Linked DNA regions of Homo sapiens: all the other regions are linked to region 6. Evidence: promoter capture Hi-C in human tissues and cell types (Jung and others, 2019). All regions are on one chromosome and are shown on one strand. The core of a region is centred on a gene start or on the middle of the fragment in contact, and the rest is flanking DNA. Distances in the headings are between cores, read along the strand shown.

Evidence for each region. The method cuts DNA at HindIII sites, captures the fragments that hold promoters and counts their contacts. A contact is called where the count stands out against the background at its distance.
Region 1: a fragment that was not itself captured here is called in contact with the fragment with the promoter of SNX1 in region 6 in 1 of the 25 tissues and cell types used here (aorta).
Region 2: the fragment with the promoter of PLEKHO2 here is called in contact with the fragment with the promoter of SNX1 in region 6 in 1 of the 25 tissues and cell types used here (liver).
Region 3: the fragment with the promoter of OAZ2 here is called in contact with the fragment with the promoter of SNX1 in region 6 in 1 of the 25 tissues and cell types used here (hippocampus).
Region 4: a contact is called between a fragment that was not itself captured here and the fragment with the promoter of SNX1 in region 6, in 1 of the 25 tissues and cell types used here (H1 embryonic stem cells).
Region 5: a contact is called between a fragment that was not itself captured here and the fragment with the promoter of SNX1 in region 6, in 1 of the 25 tissues and cell types used here (pancreas).
Region 7: the fragment with the promoter of RPS27L here is called in contact with the fragment with the promoter of SNX1 in region 6 in 1 of the 25 tissues and cell types used here (hippocampus).

What each region holds. Positions count from the first base shown.
Region 1 is chr15:63,410,242-63,414,262 of GRCh38, forward strand. All of the region lies in intron 4 of LINC02568 (long intergenic non-protein coding RNA 2568), which reads left to right. Among named protein-coding and RNA genes, the nearest start is that of LINC02568, 22 kb to the left of the region's middle. The HindIII fragment of the contact is 3,934 bases long and covers 1-3,793 here.
Region 2 is chr15:64,840,059-64,843,589 of GRCh38, forward strand. It overlaps PLEKHO2 (pleckstrin homology domain containing O2), which reads left to right and starts at 1,857. Exons shown (of 6, transcript NM_025201.5): 1 at 1,857-1,970. The coding sequence starts at 1,959. It overlaps LOC124903508 (a long non-coding RNA gene), which reads right to left and starts at 98. Exons shown (of 4, transcript XR_007064682.1): 1 at 1-98. RefSeq lists silencers at 1,380-1,699, 1,710-2,149 and enhancers at 1,957-2,480, 2,513-3,064. The HindIII fragment of the contact is 9,878 bases long and covers 1-3,531 here.
Region 3 is chr15:64,701,628-64,705,156 of GRCh38, forward strand. OAZ2 (ornithine decarboxylase antizyme 2) reads right to left here and starts at 1,654. Exons shown (of 5, transcript NM_002537.3): 1 at 1,402-1,654. The coding sequence starts at 1,421. LOC124903507 (a long non-coding RNA gene) reads left to right here and starts at 2,916. Exons shown (of 3, transcript XR_007064679.1): 1 at 2,916-3,005. RefSeq lists silencers at 1,240-1,459, 1,470-1,789. The HindIII fragment of the contact is 8,869 bases long and covers 1-3,529 here.
Region 4 is chr15:63,563,030-63,566,934 of GRCh38, forward strand. All of the region lies in intron 8 of USP3 (ubiquitin specific peptidase 3), which reads left to right. Among named protein-coding and RNA genes, the nearest start is that of FBXL22, 32 kb to the right of the region's middle. The HindIII fragment of the contact is 6,097 bases long and covers 1-3,905 here.
Region 5 is chr15:64,982,242-64,986,174 of GRCh38, forward strand. SPG21 (SPG21 abhydrolase domain containing, maspardin) reads right to left here. Exons shown (of 9, transcript NM_016630.7): 2 at 1,266-1,352. The coding sequence starts at 1,328. Among named protein-coding and RNA genes, the nearest start is that of SPG21, 5.7 kb to the right of the region's middle. The HindIII fragment of the contact is 4,494 bases long and covers 257-3,933 here.
Region 6 is chr15:64,094,416-64,098,033 of GRCh38, forward strand. SNX1 (sorting nexin 1) reads left to right here and starts at 1,567. Exons shown (of 15, transcript NM_003099.5): 1 at 1,567-1,757. The coding sequence starts at 1,599. RefSeq lists enhancers at 1,551-1,670, 1,811-1,890. The HindIII fragment of the contact is 3,698 bases long and covers 1-1,748 here.
Region 7 is chr15:63,156,020-63,159,579 of GRCh38, forward strand. RPS27L (ribosomal protein S27 like) reads right to left here and starts at 1,458. Exons shown (of 4, transcript NM_015920.4): 1 at 1,381-1,458; 2 at 394-502. The coding sequence starts at 1,386. RefSeq lists enhancers at 198-1,397, 682-771, 922-1,581, 977-1,550 and a silencer at 1,732-1,831. The HindIII fragment of the contact is 14,496 bases long and covers 1-3,560 here.

The DNA.
Region 1 (4,021 bases), core at 577-3,076, 680 kb before region 6:
CACTGAAACCTCTGCCTCCCGGGTTCAAGTGATTCTGCCTCAGCCTCCCGAGTAGCTGGGACTACAGGCGTGCACCACCACGCCTGGCTAATTTTTGTATTCTTAGGAGAGACAGGGTTTCGCCATGTTGATCAGGCTGGTCTTGAACTCCTGACCTCGTTATCCACCCGCCTCGGCCTCCCAAAGTGCTGGGATTACAGGCGTGAGCCACCGCACCTGGCTGCCTGACCAGTTTTTAATCCTATAGGGTTTTCTCTTTTTTTTCCTTTAATTTGTACAATATTCCTCATAGGAGTGAACAATTGGGGTGGACTGTCTCTCTCTCTTAACTCCGATGAATCTATAGGACTGCCAGTCAGGAGCAGCCTTCTCCATATGCCCCTGTCACCTCTAGCCAAATTCCTGATCCTCTTGCTTCTTTTCCACCTGGAACCTGCTGATTCCTGGGGCTCCCACCCCACCTGGCTCCTGCTCACCTGCTCCCTGCTTCCATCATCGGTTCGACACTCCTGGAACCCCTGGCCCCACCTCTCCTCAACTCCTCGTGACACTCACTCTCAGTGCAGGCCCAGTCTACTTCTGATTTAAGCTCTGTCCACCTGATCCAGCCTAGGGCCCAACATCAGTTCCGGGCATTGGACCCCAGGTTCTGCACCCGTCCTGGGCTCACCCTGGCCCCCTCAGGGATGTGTTCCCTCTGTCTTCCAAGAGGGTTAAAAGCCATGAGGACTCAGAAGGAGGCATCCAGTCTTTCCTCCTCTATCTGGAGAAAGAGGGGCGGCCTCACAGAACCATAGAGAAGAGGGGTTGTTGCTCTTTGAGAAAACACCTAGACTTGGTTCCTGGGAACTGCTAACTGCAAGGGGTTGGCTGTTCCTGCCCCACGGCACTGACAGGCCTTCTGGAGAATCATCTTAGTTCTACCATTTCCCCAGCCAGAGCAACATGTGCTGCTGAAAGAGGAAAAAGCTGACAAAGTAGCCCATTTCCCTTCCCATGATAAGGATACTGCATGCCCAGCTCCAGGCTCTCACATGCCCAAGGCTGCTTTGTCCAGCCAGATCTGCAGACCAGAGATCCCTTTCAGACATTTGGGGCTCAAACCCCAAGTCTCCTGATGCCCACCCCGGTGAGGAGCAGCCATTCCTGCAGGGCAGGCAGAGCAGAGACACAACCCACTATCCAGGCCAGGTGCAGTGGCTCACACCTGCAATCCCAGCACTTTGGGAGGCTGAGGTGAGAGGATTGCTTGAGCCTAGGAGTTCAAGACCAGCCTGGGCAACATAGGGAGTCTCTAAAAATAAAAAATTAAAAATAAAAAAGTCCTATCCATGAAGTAGAAGCTCAGCAGCCTCCCCATGAGCAGGGTCTTGATGGGAAGGGCCACAGCTGGGGGCCCAGGGGTGGGGGTGGGGTTAGCCAGACTTTGTTTCCCTGAAGGCATCTGTGGCTTGTACACTTGTTAGGAGTCTTGCAGAGGATGGCACAACTGAGTCCCAGCAGCCACTTATGCACTACTTACTGAGAACATGGTGCCCTGCCCAACCCACAAAGCCAATGTCATTCTGTCCAAACCCCCTAAAACGGGAGTTTTGGAAATGCCAAGGATTTCGTCTCCAGGTGCTCCATGTGGACAAGCTCTGCTCTCTGTGGGAGGATGGCATGAAATCATGTCTATGCCTTTTGCAAATAACAAAGAGCTCCACAAAGTGTAAGGGATGATAACTGTGTTTCCCAGCACAAGCCACATCCCTTACAACTCCGCGGGCACTGAAGGACTATCCGCAGGTCTTGTGTTTTGATATTTGGGCAGATTGCCTGGCTCATCTGCGTGGTTTTTCAGCCTGTGCTTTCTTTGCAGACAAGACTGGGATTTAATCACATCAAAGTGGAGAGAGGCCTCAGCTAGGGTCTGGCATGGGCTGTGACAATGTCATTCAGATTCTGAACTTGTTCTTACACTTACCTGGTGCACACTCCTAAGGGAATTTTGGCAGCTCCAAAAAGGAGAAAAACATGGCTTTTGATCCTGGACCACCGTTTGCTCTCATATTGTGGGAGAGCAATTATTAACTTGTCTTCACTTGACATTTAAAAATGTCTTAGTATCTGGTTTTTATTAACAATATCCCACCAGACAGAGCAAGACAAATGAAAGAAAAAGCTTTGAACATTATCTTAGGGACCAGCTGGAGGAAAATAGAAAAAGAAGAATCTTATTAACATGTAATAATAGCTCCCCTCCACGGCACACATTCTCATTTTAGCCTCACAATCACATAGGGAGCTATTATCACCCTTTTAAAAATAAATGCACCCATTATTGAAATAACTAATATTTTATCTGATTTTTAAATGAAAAATAAACTAAGCTTCGTGTCCAGATTTATCAGTGCAGTGGCTTTGGGGACGCGTCTCTCACCACCAAAACAGGAGCTCTGGTAAATGTGTTGGTTTCATGATTCTTGTTATTTTTTCTGGAGATTTTCCATCTGTTCTTCCTTTGGCAGGCTCACACCTAACATTTGCAGGGGCTGGGATGAGAATGTAAATGGGGGCTCCCTGGCCCACGGCTCATGCCACTTCTCTACTTACCCCGGTTCCGTTTCTTACCACCGAGGGCTTTGCATGCATGTATGCAAACAACTCTGTCCAAGCTCCAACCATGTGCTTTCACCAGCAAACAGCTGTCCCTTGACCACCTCTTGGGCCCCTAGGTGTGTACATCAGATGCACTTCCCACCTTTGGGAGGATGGATTTGGGAAACAGTTCAACAAGTCCCTTGAAGAGGGCTTGGGGTCACTTCAGCAGAGAATGCCAGGACCCTCAGAGACCCCCAGGGATCTGGGGAGTGTTCCTTGTCCTTGGCTTCCCTTGGCTGCTTGTTCTCACTCCACAGCGAGGGGCAAAGCCAGAGAAATGCAGAGGGTGCCGAACAAGGACCTCAGCTGCCCTGATCTGGGGTTGATGCTGCCTTTGTACTTAGCACTGCCTGCCAATGGCAGGCCACCTCTGCTGAAAGACAAGGGCAGAGGGTTTGGCCACCTTAGGCCTAGCGACATCTCTGGACCCAGTGAGAAACTCCAATGTCGAATTCAGAGGGACTGAATGTCCCCTCCCGCTAAAAATTCTTCTGATGCTAAAACCGTGTCTGAGCTGTGTTTTGTTTGATAGTTTTTTCCCTAAGGCTGAAATGCCCTAGTTCTTACTTTGTATTAACAAGGCAGCTTTCAGTTGGAAAATCTCAAAGCAACTAGGAACCGCTTCACAGACAAAGCAGGGACAAGAGAGGCTCTCCAAGTTCAGGGATTGGGCAAAGGACAAGATGTCCCTCCTGCCCCTTCCTCTGACAATGAAGCCTCGCTCCCTGGGAAAGGCAGAAGAGTCACTGCTGGGTGCAGGTGCATGGTGAGCTCTGGGTCTGGAAGCCCTAAGACCTGAATGAGCACATCAGATTTTGGGTTTATAAGGACCCAGAATTTCCAAGAGAAAATAAGCCCTTACACTTTCAGGAGAACCAATGTGCAGCCATGGCAAGGAGCTAGATTTTCCTAAAGCAAGCAGCCTCAAACTTCAGAGCCTCAAAGCAGTAAGCCAAATCTATCAGTAGGAAAATGAGGATGGAGTTTCAAAAAGAAAATGGGAACTCATTTAAACTGGCCAAAGGCATTCATGTTTGATACCAGATACGCAGTTTCTAAGAAGTCAGTGCATCCGTGCTAAATAAGATGAAAGTACTTAACTCAGGGCTTCTCAGGGTTTTCTACTGAAGCGTCTCTAATGGCAGACAGAGCCCAGTGGCTTTGCACCCAGAAACCCAGGACCATGGCTCAAAGATACTTATAGAAAATGCAAAATTTCTTCCAAGGTTTGTGTTTTGTTTTCAAAATGTATACAATTGTACATTTAGTTTCGTTTTTTAAAAATCTCCATTTGGGCCAGGCGCGGTGGCTCACGCCTGTAATCCCAGCACTTTGGGAGGCTGAGGTGGGCAGATCACCTGAGGTCAGGAGTTTAAAA
Region 2 (3,531 bases), core at 607-3,106, 750 kb after region 6:
AGACTATCTCAGATCCTCAGCCTCAATTTTCCTTCATCTTTCCTTCCTTCCTTTCTTTCTCTCTTTTTCTTTCCTTTCTTTCTTTCTCTTTCTTTCTCTTTTCCCTCCTTGCGTCCCTCCCTCCCTCCCTTCTCTCTCTCTCCCTTTTTTTTTTTGACAGAGTTTCACTCCTGTTGCCCAGACTGGAGTGCAATGGCGTGATCTCAGCTCACTGCAACCTCCGCCTTTCGGGCTCAAGCGATTCTCCTGCCTCAGCCGCTCAAGTAGCTGGGATTACAGGGATGCACCACCTCGCCTGGCTAATTTTCTATTTTTAGTAGAGACGGGGTTTCTCCACGTTGGTCAGGTTGGTCTGAACTCCCGACCTCAGGTGATCAGCCTGCCTCAGCCTCCCAAAGTGCTGGGATTACAGGTGTGAGCCACCGCTCCCAGCTCTTTCTTTTCTTTCCTTCCTTCCCTCCGTCCTTCCTTCCTCTCTCCTTCCTTGTTTCTTTTCTTTCTTTCCTTCCTTCATTTCTCTTTCTTTTCTTTTTCTTTCTTTCCTTTTTTCCTTCCTTCCCTCCCTCCTTCCTCTCTCTCTCCTTCCTCTCTCTTTCTTTTCTATTCTTTCTTTTTCTTGACCAGTGTGATAATATCAGCCTCAATTTTCTTCATTCCTTTAGCTAAAGGATCCCAGGCCTAGGCATGAGGGAGAAGTGTACCTGCATCTCCTTCCCCCTTGGCCTGGGAGCCCCAGGCTGCCCTTTTCCGTACAGGGCTGGAAGTAGCCTGGGAGCCTGAGGGCTGGCAGAAGGCCGTGAAAGGGGAGCTTGGTCGCTGGCACAGCCGCTGCTATGGCAGCCAGAGCCGAAGAAGGTCACCATTGATCTCACATGCACTTAATTTTCCCTTCCTTGGCATGGGACGGGGTTGACCAGGAGAGCTAAGGGGGAGTATGCGTGTGTGTGTGAGAGGGGAGCGGTGCTGCAGGCTGCGATGCAGCCAGTTACTTTCTCTCTCTGGGCCTCAGTTTCTCCAATGTAAAATGAGGGCGCATGGTATAACTAAAATCATTACTCTCTGCTGGTCCCCACACTCCCACTCTCCAGTAAGGCTGTCAGGGCTGCAAGCTCACCGCGGGATCGGGGGGATGGTCGACCCTCAGATACGGGAGGGATTGAGCGATGCCCAAGGAGAGCAGGAGAACACTGCGCTTGGAGACCCCTGAGAGCCAGGGGCGGGCCGCCCCCTAAAGGGACCCCGGAGTCCCGACTCTCAGCTCCAGCTCTTCCTGTGACACCACCCTCCGGACAGAGACCCAAGCTCCAGGCCCGGCCCCGCCCAGAGGTTCCAGGGAGAAGACCAGGCCACCGCCCACTGCCCGGCGTCGGGGAGGAAAGAGGAGGAGCCTCTGTGTGCCCACATCTCTGGCCGCCCAGGGCAGCTCGGCTCGGTCTCGCAACCCCAGCCCACTGGTTCGGGAGACCTCAAAGGCTCCACCGCCAGCGCCCCCAGCGCTCACTGTGTGCGCCCCACCCCAGCCCTGCCTGCGCGCCGCTCCCGCCACCCTCGCCTCAGTCTCTGGGCCGGAAGCCCCCTCTCCTCCCCCGCCGCAGCCCCCTCCTAGTCCCTCTCCCTCCGCCGATGCGGGAAACCTTCTCCGCCCCGTCCCGCCCTCTTCCTCCAGTTGCATCTCCGCCCGGCTCCTCCGTCCAGTCTCCAACCCAGGCCCCGCCCCTCCCCACCCATTTCCCGCCCTGGGCCGGGCCCCCGGCCCCACCGCCCCCTCCCCGGCCCCGCCCCGGCCCCCGGAAGCCTCACCCCGCCCCCGGCCCCGCCCCCCCGAAGTTTCTTGGGCCCCCGGCAGCCGGCGGGACAGAACGCGGAGAGTCGCCGCCTGGCCGGGCGTAGACGCGGTGGCAGAGCCCGCGCGGCGCTGGAAGCGAGTGGCGGAGCGGCGGGACCTCGGCGGACTCGCCATGGAGGAGGAGGTGAGGGCGGGGCCCGGCGGGGCGTTGGGCTGGGGTCCTCGAGCCCCTCACGGGGATTGCGGTCCTGGGCTCAGGCCCTCGTTCCTGCCCGCCCCACTCCCGCCAGTCTCACCTCAGGAAGAGCCTGGGCAAATGGGGCAGGGGCGAGGGGCTGGATCCATATCGGGGACTTCGCAGACCGCGTCCTCCTTCATTCTCGCTGACTTTCTCACCAGTTGTGGGGCGTCGTGGTTGTTACCGTTCCCATTGGATTGACCAGGAGACTGAGACTCCAGCGAGATTGATGACTTGCTGAAAGTGGCCTGGGTGACTGGGCTCGAACCCCGATTACCGTGGTCGGATCCTGACTCTCTCTCTCTCTCTGTGTGTGTGTGTGTGTGTGTGTGTGTGTGTGTCGGATCCTGACTGTGTGTGTGTGTGTATGTGTGTGTTGGGGGGTTCCTGTCTCAAGGATCGGATCCTGACTCTGTGTGTGTGTGTATGTGTGTGTTGGGGGGTTCCTGTCTCAAGGATGTGACCATGCTTTGGTGGCAGGAGGATTGGAGAAGTTGCTTTTTTCTCCCTTGTATAAGTCTCTGTATCTTTTCCCCCACTCTCTCCCCGCTCCACATCCATCTGAGCAGCTAGCTGTAGGGAAGGAATCGGGAGTCCGGCCCACCTAGGGTCTGATCTTAGTCCCTGCCTTCCCCACCCGAGGGCTGGACCAACTGTGTCCCTGGAGCCTCCTTCTAACCACTCAAAACACTCTTGGCCTGGGATTGGGTCTTGCCCCTGCCCCTGCCCTTTACTTGCAAACTCAGTTCTGCCAGCAGCCGCTTTATCCGAGGGTCCAGCACGCAGCAAGCACTTAATATATGCCTGTGGAATGATTAAGTTAAAATGAGGGGCCTGTTGGGTCTAGAGGAAGGTGAATTTGTTTCTTATCCCCTGAGGGGGTCCCAGCTTCAGCCCCTCTCAGCCCAAGGGAAGGGGCATGTCTTTGCCTCCTTGGATGGGGAGGAAAGATGAAGTTCTCTGCCTTGGGGGAACCCTGGCCAGCTGGGAAGCCCTGAGTGGACCGGACTGCCTGTGTCCCTTCAGTGCCCACCTCCCACTTTTCCAGGGCCATGGATAGGAGCAGCTAGTGGTCCGTCAGGGCTCCCTCTAGGCCAGGCCCTGCCTTTCTGTGGGATGGTAGATAAGTCACTTCCCCTCTCAGCCTTCATTTCCTCTTCTACAAAATATAGTGCCTGTCCTCCTCATACTCCTGGCCTGACAGTGGCCGGTTCTCTCAGTGGGTGAAGGTAGGGGGCAAAGTCAGGCCTCTGTGATTTGCTGCGGTTTCTTTCTGGCTGTTAGGTGGGGCTGCCATCTGCCTGCCCCAGGCCCCTGCTGCAAGGGCTGGGCTCTCTGGCCAGGGCCCCTCCCCTGCTCCCAGAGGATGTGGGTCAGGATTACTCCATCTCCTGATCTGCGCTGGCCCCTGATTAAGGGAAGTTCTCCGGACACCTCCTGGGCCCGGCTCAGCTCTGTACACCCTTGGTCCTGAATCTCTCACATTGTCACTTTCTTTTCTTTTTTT
Region 3 (3,529 bases), core at 404-2,903, 610 kb after region 6:
AATGAGGCCCAAGTGAGAGGCAGAGGCCATAAGGCCAAATCTGGGGACAAAAGGTCTGGTGTGGGGAACTAATGAGCTTCAGACACGGTTTGGACAGGACAGCAACAAGTTTGGGGAAAAAATGAGGAAGAGAATTAGGTCCAAATTGTAAATGAAAGCCATTCTGATGTATAAGGAGCAACTAGGATTAAAAATTCCGGGGAATTAGGAAATTGTGGAACAGTTTCAGAGAACAGAGGCAGAAATATGGGATATATTAAAATTTGAGGGAGAGATAGGTGAGAAGGGTTGTCTTGGAGAAAGAGAGGCATGTAGAGAAAGGAAAATTGAGGAACTATCTGCAGGGGGAAGGATATACCATGCAAGTTTGGAAAACCAGGGTGCTCGGTCTGAGAAAGATGTGCAGCCTTTCTCTAATTAATGGGGGAAGACTAGGGTCGGGTTTTGAGGGAGGAAATTGCAAAGATCTAGTGTCCAGAATATAGAGCTTGGTTTGAAGGCACTGGAGGTACAGGGGGAAGGTTCACTGGAAGCGAGATGGCTGGGTCCTGTGATCTAATGATCCAAAGACGGGATTCAGTTAAGAGGGGAAGGAGAAGGATGAGTTCCAGCTGAGAAAAGATGTTTAGAGGGTAAGAATGTTTCCAAGAGTGTTGGGGGTATACCATTGGGGCAACAGGATGGAGCACAAGAATCAAACCTGGTGTTTGATAAATAAAAGGAATGGCGCTGGGAGACTGGGAAAATGGGGCCTAACTGGGAGAGGGGTGTGGAGAGGGGAAGGTGGGGGAAAGATGAAGCTGAAGTATGGGACCAGGAGGAAGAGGCTGGACATCTGTGTAAGGACTGCTAGGCCTGAAGAGAATGGGGGGAGGGTGATGAGTGGGGGTAAACTGAGAACTGAAGGATGGAGGTTGACTTTGCGGGGGGCAGTGATATGAGAAGAGTCTGGGTGGGGGGTGCAGTTTTCATCAGGGAGGGAATTCAAAGGGAAGGGTGAAGTGACTTATAAGGGGAGTAAGAAAGATTTGAGGAAGACAGGAAACAATTTGGGGAATCTGGATGCCGGGGAAAGCCCAGTTTGGGGAATGGGGCACAATTCGGTGGGGCTGAAAGAAAAAAGGGGACTTGCTTGGAAGGTTGGGTTCCGGCTTTTGGGGGCTTTAGGGGAGGAGAAGGCCCGGATGAGGGGGATGGGCCCGGCTGAAGAGGGGGCTAAAGGACAGAAGAAGGCCCAGTTGCAGGGCTGAGGACCGGACTAGGGTGGCTGAAGTGGTGAACGGACCTGGCTGGGGGCGGATGGCCCCGCTGCGGGGGGCGGGGGCCGGCTAGGGGTACGTGAGAGGCCCTCTGGAGCAGATGAGGGAGGATGGGGGCGGGGAGCCTGGGCCGGGCCGTTACCTGTCCTGGGTGTTTATCATCCTCGGCGGCTCTGCTCAGGGTGGGAGGAGGCGGCGCAGGGAGTGGATAGATGGATGAGTGGGTGGGTGTGGGGTCACGCGCGCGGGGTCGATCTCTGCGGGCTAAGTCCCTGTCAGGCCGCGGGCCGAGCGCCTCCTTTTGCCTCAGCGAGCGCCTGCCTCCAACTGACCCTCCCCGGCCGCCACCGCCGCCGCCGCCGCCGCCGCCCCGCCCCCGAGTGCCTCATCTGCATAGCCCCACCCCAGCGCCGCGCGGTGTCCTGGGAAACTGGGGCCCACAACAAAGGGCAAAGCACCGCCCCGCCTCCGCGCAGGCGCACCACGGACCGATCGTGGGGGTAGGGCTAGGGGGTCCGAACGAAGGGCAGGCTGTGCAGGAGGCCATGACCAAGGCGGTGGGTCTGCCCGCAGCTGCGGCAGCGCGGCCCAGAAGATGCGTTGTGTTTCCGGTAGTTTTCTGTGAGGATTGACTCAACCTGGTCCTCATCCCTATTCCTTGTTGGCGTGGGGCCGAACAGGGCTGTGCCATTTGGGAGGATATTAAAACAAAATCAGAAATCTTAAGAGAACTACACACATATTAGCACCATTCCTAGTCTGAGTCCAGGCCCACAGATCTGTTATCTCAGCTCATAATGCAGATCAATAACCTCAGCTGTCAGGGTAGATCAACAATCTCAGCATCTCGCACACATCTCATGTCAATCGTCAAGGCTGCTCCAAGCACTGGCTTAGGTCATCTGAAGCCAGAACTCTGTAGATCATGAGCACAGTCACAACAAGACAGTCGTGGAAAGCGTCGTCACTAACTTGTTCACGGTCACTTCAGATCACAATCAGTGCAAGTTACTTCAATCGATCATGCAAGGTTACTAGTTCAGTCACCTCCATTCATTATCCCTACTGGTCCTTATGACAGATTAGTGCCTGAAGGCCACAGTCACCGGTGCGCAGACCCCTCAGATCACAGTCCTTGTAGGTTACAATCACAGACACTTCAACACAATCATCAAAAGCCCCGACTCTGTTCACAGTCAACCCAGATTGCAATCAAGAGAGGTCACATTATCTCAGATCACAGTGGGTCACTCTGTCACCTCAGATTACATCCATTCAGTTATTCAACAAATAATTATTTTATTTATTTACTTATTTTTGAGATGGAGTCTCTCTCTGTGGCCCAGGCTGGAGTGCAGTGGCACAATCTCAGCTCACTGCAACCTCCACCTCCCGGGTTCAAGCGATTCTCCTGCCTCAGCCTCCTGAGTAGCTGGGATTACAGACATGTACCACCATGCCCGGCTAATTTTTGTATTTTTAGTAGAGACGAGGTTTCACCATGTTGCCCAAGCTGGTCTTGAACTCCTGACTTCAGGTGATCCACCTGCCTCGGCCTCCAAAAGTACTGGGATTACAGGCATGAGCCACCGCACCCGGCCAACAAATAATTATTGAATAGCTACTTACTGTATGCTCCAGGCATGTGCTAGAGTCCAAGAATACGCCATAATCAACCAGGCAAGGTTCCTGCCTTGGATGTCACAATCCGGTCAAGGGGAGAGACACAGGTCATCACAATACCAGGTAAGTAAGTGCTCAATCTGAGGAATGCCACAGAGAAAGTAATTTAGGGAATTAGGGACAGCTTTGCAGAAAGAGTGATAACTCAGAGAAAGGGTGACACTCCAGATCGGCGGTCACTATGACTTTCAGTTCACAAACATCTCACATTGGAGTCATCTCAGGATATGGTTACTCTCCTTCACAAACAGCATGCTTTTGGGTTTTGGATGATGGGGATGGAGGCACAGAAGGAAGGCTGGAGCTACCAAGCTAAGGCTTTTTCAACACAAATTAAAGTGGTAAATGATACCGAAACTGCCCGGATTATCACTAGATATTCAGGCAAGGCTGGTCTCATACTCTGGTTCACTTTAAGATCCTCCACTTTGTCCCTCAGCTATCCCTACCTACTCCTCCAGGTTCAAGTCAGGTATGTTCTTACATTAGTACTTAGCAAAATTGGACATTTAAACCCAGCCCTGATCTACCCCATCGCATAGTCCCAGAGACCTGGGCAATCCTCCTGGACCCTCAGAGGGAGCTGG
Region 4 (3,905 bases), core at 593-3,092, 530 kb before region 6:
TTTTAAACATTAATATTAGTGTTTATACTGTTCCTGAAATAATTCCTAATGAAGTGGTTGTATTCTAAATATTCTAAATACTTAAGACTGGTTTGGTGTTTTTTTCTTTTTAAGAAGAAGAGCTGAAATTGAATACATCTGACTAAACACATGTGTTTATTTAAATAATAGACTATAGAAATGTCTTTAACAAGAGGTGGGGTATTTTGTTGCTATAAACATAAAGCCCTTATAAATAACTTATGCGCACTAGGAAAACATACTGGACAAAATTTCCTTAATTCTTTCACAATGTAGAATAATTACCATCACACACTGTCTTGTTATTCCAGCTAAAAAAATTAATAAGATCAGTAGAAGTGCATGGTATTATATGAACTGTTCGGAGCTGAGTTCGGCAGCTCTGGGAAGGCTGTGGTCAAGCGCCTGGGATGCACTCTCCAGAAGGCAGCTGTGCCACATCCCGGTGTGGCCAGAGAGCTGCTGTGGTGCCCATGCTTTCTGTCTCACCTCGCTTGAGCAAAATACACCTCTGCTGTACACCTAGCTGTCAGAGGAATCCTGCCTTTTCTCGTAGGTCTGTCATCCCTGTAGGGATTCGGGTGATAGCAGCTTTGAGGCACTACAGGTGTTTGACAGCAGCCTTGGCCACCTTCTGCCGATTTTACCCTTCTGAAGCAAGTCATGGTTCTTACTAGTTATGATTTTGGCACCTAATATACATCCCTTCTACTTTTCTTTAAAAAAAATTCATGCTGTAGTAAACTTAGTCATCTATCTTGCCCTATTGCCTAAAAAGATGTAGTTAATATAGATAAATATTTAAAAGGTAATTAACTTCAAAGGACTTTAAATTGTTGCCTTGCTAAAAAGTCTAGTCTTGAGGATCTGACATGAGTAACTAGTGTTAACCCTAGTCTTGGTTTTGAAAGAAACTCCTTTTATGTATCATACTATTTAAATCTCCTGTCAGGAAAAACATAAGAATTTGAGAATGTCTTGACTTTAAGAAGGAAAGGCAGGAATGACAGTTAAGTTACCACTGTCCAGGTCTGGACCTAATAAAAAAATTTCTAACATAAATCACCTAGTAGACTCTTGATAGAAGTTTAGTCTTTGTGTTTTATTATTATATAATAATAGTTTACATTTATTGAATGCCTACTGTGTGCCACCCACTGGGTATTTTTTATCTGGTCTTCATTAAAAAACAAGCAAGAACAAAATTCCAGCCAAGCAGGAAATATTGCCCCCATTTTAGAGGAGACAAAACTGAGACAGAGAGGAGAAGCGACTTGTTTAAGTTTATACATCTCGTGGGGTAATGACCAAAATTAGAGTCCAGGTGTTTGTGGAGTTGGCTAATAATAGATTTGTTGACAATGATTTGCCCACATACCTTGAACAAGGCCCGTTAACTAATTTGATACTGTTTTCCTTGATCCCCATGGTGACCAAGATCCCTCATTCTTGAAAGCTTAGAAACATTATCATATTTTATACAGTAGAAATCTGCTTTTCCTGTAAATCTTTCCACATCTCTGTCCTTTCTAGCTTCTGTAGCCCAACTGTGAGCATGATGTAGTTTTTAGCTGTTTAATTTCCACATTGGAATATTCCTACTGATGAAGGAATAAGGTAACCAGGCTGACGAATGTAGCATGTGGAGTCTCTGGGGAAGATTTCAGATCATACATGAACTCTTAAATTTCTTGAATGGCTGATGAGAATAGGGTGCTTTTGTATTCTTAGCTGGGCTTGCTCTTAGTTCTGCAGTAATTGAGATTGTTCCCCATTTTTATGTAATCAAAGAACAGTTTTTCTCTTGGTCAGATCTAGATCTTGAGATTATATCATGGATAAAGCTTTAGTGCAGGTCACTGCACAATGCCCAGGTGTGAGGCAGGGAGGTGGGGCTTGCTTTTTACAGCTCTTACCCTGTGAGGTATGCAGGTAAGATTCTTATAACATGCCTGTGTGTAAGTGCATGAATCTTGATTTATGTTTATTTATAATCCCAAAGAAATTTTTTTTAGGTTTAAAAAGCCCATTTTCCTTGATTAACACATGACAGACAGTGTCTAGAGAACTTGATCCTTTGGGATGAAATATGAGGACTCTGAAATACAAACATGCGTGTAGAAGTAGAAACATCTTTCATCTATTAAATACACAAATATATATACATACACACACCCCCAAAACACACACACCCTCAATGTAATCAGCAGCTTTGGATAGAGAAATCATTAAGCCTATTCTTTCTTTTTTTTCCCCACTGAAACTAAAAGCCAGTTACCTAGCAGGGAAAATTTTCTTGAAGTTTTGACCTTTTCCAACATACATATGTACTTACCACACTTCTTATGATTTCTTAGTATGTTCAGCTCTTTCTATCCTTTTGCTTTTCATAAAAATACTTTAAAGTGTATTTTCTTAAATAGGCAAAAACATATGTGGTTCAAAATTCAAAAGGTAACAAAAGAATATGCAGTGAATGTTTTATTCTGTTCCCTAGCCATTCATTCTGTTTTCTGGAAGCAACCATAGTTACTAGAGTTTTGTGTATCCTTTCAGATATTCTGTGTGCATATACAGACAAGTGTGTGTGTGTGTTTATGTCATTTTTAATGTAATTGGTGATGTATCATCTTTTTTTCCCCACTTTGAGATGATTCATATTAGTATACAAATAGCTTCCTCAGACCATTTTACAGTTGTATCATAATTTGTGTCCAAGTCCCCTCCCAGTGGCTTTATGGACTGTTTCTAGTCTTTGCTGTTCTAAACAGTGCTGCAGTGAGTAGTATTTTACATACATGTGCAGGTATCTAAGAGAGAAAGTGCCGGGCTCAAGGAAATGTTCTTCTGTAATTTTGATAGTCTTTTCTGCTAGCCTTTGTCACTCCTTGCTTTTCTTAACACAGCTCTGTCTTGCTGCTTTGCTGTCTCTGTATGTCATGTGCTTCTGCCCACAGGATTTGCCTTGTGGTCCCTATCTCTTTGTCTAGGATCCCGGTTAAAGCTAACACTCTTCAGGAAAGTCTCTTGATGATTCAAATCAGGTCTTTCTGTACAACCTGATTTAATATATTTGTCTTGACTTCCCAAGATGGAACTTTATTTTTTTAAATCAGTTCTTGTTATAATTAATGTTTAAAATGATGGGTAAATAATCATTGGCACATAATTCTTATATTTGCTTGCTCTTCTCAGGTTTATAGACAATGTAAAGGATTTTTGTAGACAAAAAATAGATCTTTGCCTGTGATGCTTTTTTTTTTTTTAATTTTATTTTTTATTTGAGTCTCGCTTTGTAGCCGAGACTGGAGTGCAGTGGCATGATCTGGGCTCACTGCAGGATCCTCTGCTTCCTGGGTTCAAGTGATTCTCCTGCCTCAGCCTCTCAAGTAGCTGGGACTACAGGTGCGTGCCACCATACCTGGCTAATTTTTTTGTATTTTTAATAGAGACGGGATTTCACTATGTTGGCTAGGCTGGTCTCAAACTCCTGACCTCGTGATCCACCCGTCTTGGCCTCCCAAAGTGCTGGGATTACAGTTGTGACCCACCGTGCCTGGCCACGTGTGATACTTTAATTAAAGTTTTATTTAACAATAGTCTTTTTGGGATATTTGTGAAAAGATTTTAAAATACTATGCTATTGATATTTGATATTTAAACCATTTTCACTGTAGCCAAGAATTTTGCTATTGTATTTGTGTGTTTGTAAACACTAATTCATTTTTGTCAGTTTTGTTTTCTGGTGTTTTTGTTTTGAGGAAACTCAGTCATGATTGTTGCCAAATACTGAGTAGGAATACATTTAACTTATTTTCGTTTTGCAGATATTTTGGCCAAAACAACAACTTTAGAATTCTTTTTTTAATGTCAAGGATATTTTA
Region 5 (3,933 bases), core at 1,254-3,753, 890 kb after region 6:
TTAAGCAATCCTCCCATCTCAGCCTCCTGAGTGTCCGGGACTACAGGCGTGCACCAACACGCCCAGTTAATTTTTTCTAGTTTTTGTAGAGAAAGGGTCTCATCATATTGCCCAGGCTGATCTCAAATTCCTAGGCTCAAGCAATCTTCCTGCCTCGGCCTTCCAAAGTGCTGGGATTACAGGTGCACAGCACCATGCCTGGCTAATTTTTTCATTTTTTTATAGAGACAGAGTTTCGCTATGTTGCCCAGGCTGGTCTCAAACTCCTGGCCTCAAATGATCCTCCTAGGTCTCTAAAGTGCTAGGATTACAGGCATGAGCCATCACAAACAGCTGCAAAAGATCTTAAGATCACTGGATTCTAACACTCCTGCAAGGGAATCAGCAAAGGTTTTACTCTACTCAGTGACTTGAACTGCCTTTGTCTAGTGTGATCCCCAAACATCTGGGATTAATTTGGGAAGCAGAGTCAATACTCAACTGCAATATAAGTGTTTTGGGTTTTCAAACATCCCAGGAAAATAAAGCTTCTAGAAGATGACTGTGGCAGAATGAGTATGTCATTGCAAACAGAAGCTCTATAATGTGACCCCATTCTTAAATCTGAGGAACAGGAATATAATCTGACTGTACTCACTATACAGTTGCTGTAAACTTTCCACTAAACTATACAGAAGAGTACATACATACCTGCTTGCTTGTATATGTAAAAGCAATTATAAAAAATGAGTACAGGCTGGGTGCGGTGGCTCACGCCTGTAATCCCAGCACTTTGGGAGGCCAAGGTGGGCGGATCACTTGTGGTCAGGAGTTCGAGACCAGCCTGGCCAACATGGTGAAACTCTGCCTCTACTAAAAATACAAAAATTAGCTGAGTGTGGTAGCGCATGCCTGTAATCCTAGCTACTTGGCAGGTTGAGGCAGGAGAATCTCTTGAACCTGGGAAGCAGAGGTTGCAGTGAGCCGAGATCATGCAGTGCACTGCACTCCAGCCTGGACGGCAGAGCGAGACTCCATCTCAAAAATAAATATAAATAAATAAATAAATAAAAATGAGTACAGTTACACTTGCTTTCACTCTAAAATGAGTCTCAAAAGTTGACTGTACATGACAGGGAAGGAGTGAACTTAATCCTCTGCAACCCACAGTCATGATACTCGGCAGTAACCTTTACTCTCAAACACTACTAAGACATGACATCTAAATCACACACAAAAACAATACAAGATTTTGCAAATAAGAGGTATAGTAAAACCATACATACCTTTTTAAGGGGAACTGTACCTCTAAACCAGTTATAATCAGGAGAGACTTTAATCTCTCCCATGATTAGCTGAAATGGAGGTTAATCCTGAAATAAAAGCATGTGATATTTCACGTCAAGAATTCATGTTTACATCAGAACTAAATGTAGAGTCTCATCTAGCTATACCAACAATATTTTAAAGAAGAAAGCCAAGGAAACTGGCTATTTTGTCAGTATATAGTCCAACTACAGAAAACAATTTGGTGAAATACTACAATCACAGAATCAGAAGCACTCTTTTTTTTTTTTTTTTGAGACAGTCTCAGTCTTGTTGCCCAGGCTGGAGTGCAGTGGCGTGATCTCAGCTCACTGCATCCTCTACCTCCTGCAGTTCAAGTGATTCTCCTGCCTCAGCCTCCCGAGTATCTGGGATTACAGGTGCCCGCCACCACGCCCAACTAATTTTTGTATTTTTAGTAGGGATGGGGGTTCACCATGTTGGCCAGGCTGGTCTCGAACTCCTGACCTCAGGTGATCCACCCACCTCAGCCTCCTAAAGTGTTGGGATTACAGGCGTGAGCCACCATGCCCGGCCACCAGAAGAGCTCTTACAGAAATTATTCCAACACCCTTAGTTCTTCCAGAAAAGGAATCTGGTCTAGAAAATTTAAATGACTTACCCAAGATCACATGGCAATGCTAGGACCAGATGTGAGACAGCCTTTTCTGACACCATACTTCCTGTCTTAGTTCTCAACTGCAGTACCATCAGTTATCTTTTGACATTACCTTAAGAATCCCTTTAATAAAGATGCTCCTGTCTGATTATAGGGATAGTCCACGCTAGAGAAAGGAGTTGATGTTTTTTTACTTTTTTAATTTTTGAGACAGTCTTGCTCTGTTGTCCAGGCTGCAGTTCAATGGCACAATCACAGCTCACCACAGCCTTAACCTCTGAGGCTCAAGTGATTATCCCAACCTCAGCCTCCTAAGTAGCTGAGACAATGGGCACACACCACCACGTCAGGTGAATTTTTTGGTTTTGTAGAGATGGGGGCCTCCCTGTGTTGCCTGCACTGGTCTCGAATTCCTAGGCTCAAGCAATCCTCCCATCTTGCCTCCCAAAGTGCTGGGATTACGGGTATGAGCTACCACACCCAGCCTAGAGAAAGAAGTTTAAGTTAAGCCTGCTTCCTGATAAATTCGCAATACACCATAAATCTAACTGTAATAGCACATAACCAGAAATTCACATGTAGTTCCCTTTTTTTTTTTTTTTGAGACAGAGTCTCACTCTGTCACCCAGGCTGGAGTGCAGTGGCGTGATCTCAGCTCACTGCAACCTCCACCCTCCAAGTTCAAGCGATTCTCCTGCCTCAGCCTCCTGAGTAGCTGGGATTACAGGCACCTGCCACTGCGCCCGGCTAATTTTTTGTATTTTTAGTAGAGACGGGGTTTCACCATCTTGGCCAGGCTGGCCTTGAGCTCCTGACCTCATGATCCACCCGCCTCAGCCTCCCAAAGTGCTGGGATTACAGGCATGAGCCACCGTGCCCCGCCTACATGTAGTTCTTAATACAAAATACAGGCAAATTTGCCACTCATATGGACGTGATTAAAAGTTACACAATGTCCTCAGAAAGATCTATAATGTAAACTTGAAGGCACTATAACTAACAACAAAATGAAACATTTGCCCTTAGGAAAAAATGTGTAGTCTTTTGTTGTGAGCTTAGTGACTTCTGGTTTTCATAGCTCTGTGATCTTAGATAAGTCTTGATCCTTTTGGAGTTTGTTTCCTCATCTATGACTGTGTTACCACTGTGTCCCCAAAGCTTAGATCAGTGCTTGGCACACAGCAGGCATTATCTGTTGATTGAACGAATAACTACATTCTAAGGAGAATGAAGGGGGCCATCCTTCTAACCCTGGCATCTGTGAGCTTTGGCCTAGCTGAACATCCTCAACTAAAAGGCTGCCCCTCTTTGCTCAGGCATCTGTGCTATGTCATAACAGGAAACTGAAATTATAGTTCCCTGTTGCAGATTCTTATTGCCAAGTGAGGAAATTCCACCAGGAAGGATTCAAATATTTGCTTTGTACCACTTCCTCTACCTCAAGAGCAAGCCTTGATCCTAGCACGGCTAACACGAGGTGAGATTCGTGAGACCTAACTCCCGGGCTGACTCTGAACTGTCGTTTTAGAGGGAGTTCTCTGGACTGGCAAGGAACAGGGGATTCTAAACTCAATGGAACTCTTCCTTGGTGGCCCTCGAGATCTGCTCCCTCAGGAACACAGAGCCCTCAGTAGACTCAACTGTGACCTTGGAGACGTACTAAGCTGAACCCCGAGGAGACAGCAGATGTAGACATTCTAACACTAAACTTGATTTACAACCTTGACATTGTGATAATGGTCTCTCTTCTCAAAGCTAAGATGGTAATTTTAGAGAAGTGTGTTAAAATCATAAGTTGCTTTAAAGTACCAAGAAAATCATCAGCCAGTCTTATACTGAAAATTAGTGTGCACAGATATATATAGTGAAATAAAGAAAATTCTTTGCATATCCATTTTATCTTAAATATTAATATGTTAAGGCCAGGCACAGTGGCTCACGCCTGTAATCCCAGCATTTTGGGAGGCTGAGGCAGGTGGATCACGAGGTCAGGAGTTCAAGACCAGCCT
Region 6 (3,618 bases), core at 317-2,816:
ATTTCTGCTAATGGCCTCCAAAGACAACTTAGAACATAAGTTTTCCCGTGTCTAATGTGTACAGTGGTGACATAATGGAGATCGCCATCCTTAAAAGTGTATCTTGGCCGGGCGCGATGGCTCACGCCTATAATCCCAGCACTTTGGGAGGCCGAGGCGGGCGGATCACCTGAGGTCAGGAGTTCGAGACCAGCCTGGCCAACATGGGCAAACCCCGTCTCTACTAAAAAATACAAAAATTAGCTGGGCGTGGTGGCAGGGGCCTTAATCCCAGCTACTTGGGAGGCAGAGGCAGGAGAATCGTTTGAACTCAGGAGGCAGAGGTTGCAGTGAACCAAGATCGAGCCATTGCACTCAAGCCTGGGGGAGAAGAGCGAGACTTCCCTCAAAAAAAAAAAAAAAAAAAAAAGTGTATCTTAAGCCCTCTGGTGTTCGTGGGTGTGATGGATGCCAGTAACAAAATCGATTTTATTTTATCCATCCATCCCTCCGATCAAATTTGTAGGTACTAATTTGCCATAGGTGATCCATAGGCATGGAAGATACAAAGATAAAACGCTGCCCCCGCCTTCAAACAGCTCACATGACCTGTGAGGGAGTCCATCCCTGAATTTGCAGTTACAACCAAACTAACTAAACCTCTTGTCAAAGTTGGTGACAAATGCCATTTCTATTGAGAAGATAGGATTATCTTGCAGAATTGTCCCATGCTAACATGCCCATTTATCTTTAAACTCCAGTCTTGTTTGTCTAGTTAATGTAGGCCTTAGGATCACCAGACAATGAATTGCTTAGGTCCCAAGGAAATTTTGGTCAGGGTTCAATAATTTCCCTGCCGTCTATTCCACTCCACTTACTCCACAGCAATTGAGAGGATAATCCTAACATTTTTCCAGCCAAATCTAGGACACTGAGGCCTCACTTCATCTGTGAGGCCTCCCTACTTCTCCAAGCAGAATTGATTATCTCTTTCCCTGTGCTCCCACAGGGCACCATAGCATTGAACATGTCGAACTGTCGATTAAATACCTGATTTCTGTATCTGAAACTCACAGCAAGGTGCCAGGCATACAGTAGATGCTCAGTATCTGTATTTCTTAATGAATTAACTGAATGTTGCTCAAGGAATAAGTGGTGAAGCTTTCTTCTAGTCTTGTTCAGATACCTCAATCGAAATATTTATTGACTCTCTGTGAGGGCATTGTGCTTGGCATGGGTAGATGGCATGTAGAGGTTTTCAAACATTTTAGTGACACTCCTTCATTCAGACGAACTCTTAGAAGCCTGTTGGATAAAGCTATCCAGAGCACAAAGGGCCCTAGAAACCTGAGCAGCCCCTAACTCCTACTTTTCTGCCCCTTTGGCCCCACTCGTTAATATCTCAGCATCGCGAACCAGGCCTCGGATTTGCTGCGCAGCCTCAGCTGGCCGGGTGCCGCCCCGCCCCCAGCGCCTAAGCCCCGCCCCTAGGTCTCCGCCCCTCGGATCCCACGGGGTCCCTTGCGGCCCTCCCACTCCTCGCACCGTTGGATCGCTTTGCTCACGGCGCTATCTCTCGATAAAGTTGTTGTTGCGGCTTCCGCCGCGGGTGGAAGAAGATGGCGTCGGGTGGTGGTGGCTGTAGCGCTTCGGAGAGACTGCCTCCGCCCTTCCCCGGCCTGGAGCCGGAGTCCGAGGGGGCGGCCGGGGGATCAGAACCCGAGGCTGGGGACAGCGACACCGAGGGGGAGGACATTTTCACCGGCGCCGCGGTGGTCGTGAGTTTGCACCCCTCGGGGTAGCAGGCGGGAGGGCACCCCGAAAGGGAAGAGAGGCTAAGCGAGAATCGGGGAGGTTGGGCAGAGTGGGCCCGGTGAGACCTTGCCTCGGTGTCAGCAGTCCGGGCCCCGGGGACCCTGGATGTGCTCGAAGCGGTAGAGCTTGGCTTCCCGGCCCCCAGGCGGGAAGAGTAAAGAATGAGGGTTGTGGTGCCTTCGTCGGCTAGCTCCCTAACAGCCGAGAACCGCCGACGCCGTCCTTTGACCCTGCAGTGTGGTGACACTCCACGGATCCACGGGGTTATTTTGCAGGTCGTGTCCTGCCAAGGCAGATTCAGTAGGACGGAATAAGCGAATGGGATGCAGACCTTTCCCCCGTCTTACTGCTTCTAAGATGAATAGCGTTATGTGGACTAGCCTGGGGTGGTGACCCGCCCACCAGTTCTTTCTTTAGCCCAGCATTTACCGATAATAACCAAAGGCCCTTTCTGGATCTTAGTTTACAAAAGTTATGTTGATTCTTCTGATCTCTAGGAAAATCAGGCCAGAGGCTGGTGGACAGAAGGCACTGCCAGATAAATCACTACATAGATCAGAAAGCTTTCTCCTTTTTAAAGGGATGTGTTCAAGTGCCCACGTACCTCACTGGGAGCAAATCTGAAATGTGATGAGGAAATGGTGTTTCCCGTAATGTTACCGGTAGGAGGCCCTTGAGTGTAGGTTGTCGAGGTTCTTGGCATTTTGAACAAATAATTGGACAAAACGCACAAAATAACAAAGGAATGAAACACAAACGAAGCAGCGAAAGCAGGAATTTATTAAAGCGAGAAAGCACCCCACAGGGTGTGAGTGGGCCGGAGCAAGGGGCTCAAGAGCCCACTTACAAAGTTTTCTGGATTTTAAGTGCTCCTTTTATGGTTCCTATGGGTTACCCCTTATCTGGATGAAGGATTTGGTCTGTGGCTAAAGGCCGAGGTGAATTGGCGTCCTGTGCAGATGAACGGATGGTCCCTGCTTGGCCTGCGGCCAGTCTAAGGCACTCTCCCTTTCCATGTGAGACGTGGTGGATGGGGAGGGTTGCAGGGATAGTAGCCTTTGATCCTTTGCCACTCGGGCGTGGGCAGATGGGTTTTTTCCTTTTGGTTTAGCTTTAGGAAGTTGGCCTTAATTGGCCTTAGGTTCCCTGCCCCCAAACCCAGGGGGTTCCTTTTGGGAATTCAGCTTTGGGAAGTCAGCACGAATTGGCCTTAGATTCCTTGCCCCCAGACCTTGGTGTTTTCTCTTTTAGAAAGTTAACGTAAGTTGACCTCAGATTCCCTGCCCCCAAACCTTGGTGTTTTTCCTTGATTCAGCATGAATTGCCCTTAAGTTCCCTGCCTCCAGACCCTATTCTCCTGCCTCAGTAATAAATATCCGGGTCTCTAATAAGAGTTAGGTATTAGAAAAAAATAATCTTTGTAATGTGGAAATCAGTAATCAGTTATGGAACCAGTAGAGATGTTTTGGGCTATTTTATGAGAATATTTACTCATACCACTTGGTATAGGTTGTTCCAGGCTGTAAAATTCAATGCTGGGTCTGTGAATTTATCTGTTTGGCATAATGCTTCTCTTCACAGTAGCTACTCAGTGTGTAACCAACTAAATAAAACAGCTATAAATTCTTTATGCAACATGTGGTCTGAAAAAGTTTGAGGCTTTCCTCATTTGTGTCAGATTTTCCCTGTCCTGTATTCAGAAATTGAGTCCATAATCTCAGCTCATAAGGTGCTTGATAATTCTAATATAACAACTAAAACTGTCAAATGAAGTCTCTTATTCTGAGAAATAATAAGTCTTTGTGACTGTCATAAAACAGGAAA
Region 7 (3,560 bases), core at 208-2,707, 940 kb before region 6:
GAACATCTCTATTTTGAGTATCCACATTTTGATTATCCACAAGTGCTCAGTAGCCACATTCAGCTAATGGCCATTGTATTGGGCAGCACAGCTTTAGACTGAAGAATCAACAGACTTTTCTTTGTATCATGAAACAGAAAACTCATCGTCTGAAGAGCTTAAAGACTTGCTAAGTCAAATGGCATATCTCCTTTGAATGCCTGTTTTCACTTACCCCGAAATGTTTCTACAATGGTTTCAGTACATTTATTATGAAAATGTCCCTGACATTTCCAATTCTGTAATCCCACTTCTACTCAACAGAGGGTTCTAATGTATCTTAACTATACACACCACACTAGCAATCCCTACAGAAATTTTCTTTAGTAAAGGAATTAAGATTTCAAATTTTACCTGGACATTTTACATCCATAAAGTAAGAATTTGGACTTTGTACTAGGCGTTTCTTTTTATGTTTTTTCTTTTCCTCTTCCAAGGACGGATGTAGTAAATCTCTAGCCAACTGAACAAAGAAGCATATTATTACTATTAGTTTTAAACCACAACGCTGGCACATTTAACCATACGTGAAATATACATGCAAAAACAGGAATAACGGTCATCCTCGGCAGAAGCAACACGTCAGATAGTAAAGTTATTTTTCGAAACCTGTTAATAACTTTCATCAGTACTTTTCATAATACTTGTGTTCTCCAAGTCCCTAGAAAAGGGCTTTCGCACGATCAGGAAACATATGGTAAGGCAAACTTTGTCCTTCTTTACTCAACTGCGTAATGAACTGTCTTCGATGAAAACTGCGCGAAGTCGAGGTGCTAAGCAAAGAAAGTGACCCCGACTGTGGACTCGCTTAGAGTAGAAACTGCTGAAGTAGACCAGACAACGTCAGCGCCTGGGTGATTTTTGCTCCTGTGGCTCAACAGCTGATCTGACAGGAATTCTTGCTGAGCGACCGTCCTTGACGGAATTAATATATAAGGCAACAACGAGGACAGTTTTTAAAAAAGGAAAACAAGTAGGAAATCGCTTCCGAAAGAAGGCAGAGGGGGCGAGAAACACCAATCACTGGGAAAGCCAAAAGACCCAAAGATCACAACCTCAGGGGCATCCTCAAAGACCAAGACCGCTCATAAGCTACACAGAGAACTGTTCCCCTCCCAGCCACCGCCTCTGAATTGCAGCCCACGCCCCTGCAGGGCCAGCCGCGCCGCGGTGACCGGGCAAGTCACTACATGCCCGCCACGCGCGAAGACGCTGCGCAACCTGAGCCGCCTCGCCACTCTCGGACACTACAGGCCCGAGAGGCAGCCGGACTCATCCGTCCCATATGACTCTCGGTAAAGAAGCCCAAAACAAACCCGGAGCCCGATGTAAACAACTCACAGGCATGTTGATCCTCTTGCAAGCTCAGCCCTACCAGACCTCCCAGCCCACACAGCTAGCAAGCTGCAAGCGATCTGCGCTCGGCATCAACTTCCGGGATAGAAGCTGCTGGGAGGAGCGGCGGGGCGGGCTTGTCTGCTCTAGGCCCTCCTCTCGGTGGTAGGGGGACGCCGCAGCAGGGTACTCGGGTCCAGGGCGCAGGGAAGACCCGGGGATGGTGAGCGTTCCAGGGTGCCAAGTCCCGTGGGTCTAACGGGCTTGTTGGCGAGCGCCGCGGGCTCTGCAGTGCCTGAGGCCAGAATCTGGCTGGGGAGCGGCCTCGGGCTTAGGCCATGGCGAGGGAGCGCCCGCGGCCACCGGGGCCGGCGCCACCCCGGAACCCGGCGGGCCGCTCAGCCCCCGGCCCCCTGGCCCGGCCGCTCTCGGTTAGCTCTGGGGGTGGGCACACGGGGCAATGCCACTATTCTCTTCTTTTGTGTATTAAAAAATACAGTATTATTAACCATTAATACGTGCCAGAGAGATTATGAAAGAGGCTCGTATCCTTTTGGCTTCCCTTTTCAAGGCGCAGATTTCGAAGTTTTCTGCGGGGTATGGCTGTGCCTTAGGTTTGCTTTGTTCTGAAAAAAAGTTTTTAAAACAGCACGGATTCGCTGCTGTGCCTCATTCACTAAGAGGCCCCACCCCTTCCGAGGATTACTCGTCCTTTGCAGAGTGGACAACTAGGGGGCCTGAGAAAGGCGAATGTCACCGATGACCGAACATGAGTCTTTATCATTATTATTATTTGAGACAAGGTCTCGCTTTTTTGCCCAGGCTGGAATGCAATGGTGCCATCACAGCTCACTGCAGCCTCGACCTCCTGGGCTCAAGCGATTCTCCCGCCTCAGCCTCCCGAGTAGCTGGGACCACAGGAACACGCCATTATTCTTTTTTTTTTTTTTTTTTTCCTTGGAGACAGGGTCCTGCTATATTGCCCAGGCTTGTCTCCAATTCCTAGGCTCAAGAAGTCCTTCCACCTCAGCCTCCCAAGTAGTTGGGACTACCGGCGCGTGACAGCATGCTCTATTTTTGAGGAGGAAACTCTATGCTTGAAAAATGGGTGTCATGGGCGACCAAAAGGCAAGAAACCAGAAAGACACTTTACCAGAAAATTGGTCTAACTGGATTTTTTTTTTTTTTTTTTTTTTTTTTGGCAGAGTCTTGCTCTGTCACCCAGGCTGGAGTACAGTGGCGCGATCTTGGCTCACTGCAACCTCCGCCTCCTGGGTTCACGCGATTCTCCTGCCTCAATCCTCCCAAGTACCTGAGATTACAGGTGTCCATCACCATGTCCGGCTACTTTTTGTGTTTTTAGTAGAGACGGGGGATGGTGGGGGGGGGGTTCACTATGTTGGCCAAGCTGGTCTCGAACTCCTGACCTCAAGTGATCTGCCCGCCTTGGCCTCCCAAAGTGTTGGGATTACAGGCGTGAGCCACCGCGTCCCGCCCTGACTTGATGTTCTTAATCACCTTATTTGTCTTTGCAAAAAGGATACATGTATAATATACATTTTGGGAAATGCAGAAAAATAGAAGAAAATTTACCATCTGTAAATAAACATTTTTAACTTTTGACCTATATCCTTCCCAATATTTTTTACTCTCTTGGATATAGGTTTATTTTGGGTTTTGACTTAACCTAATTGGGATCATCTTGTGCATAATCTTTTGTAGACTTGAATTTTCCTCCCACTTACTATAAAATGAGCATCACTCCATGTCACTACATATTCTTTTTTTTTTTTAAATAAGGTCTCACTGTGTTGCCCAGGCTGGAGTGCAGTGGCACAATCTTGGCTCACTGCAGCCTCGACCTCCTGGGCTCAAGCAATTGTCCCCCCTCAGCCTCCTGAGTAGTTGGGACTGCAGGTACAAGCCACCACGCCTGGCTAATTTTTGTAATGTTTGTAGAGATGGGGTTTCGCCATGTTGCCCAGGCTGGAATATTCTACATTATGCTTCTTAATGGGCATATAGCATTTGTCCTGTGACTATATATATTTTCACTTCAGCCATACACTAAATTGGGCATTAGGTTTGGGTTTTTAAATATTTGATACTTAAAAATTAATAAAAATTGGTGAATATTAAATATTTAATGTATATAAGTATATAGAATAATACAATTGTATACACAG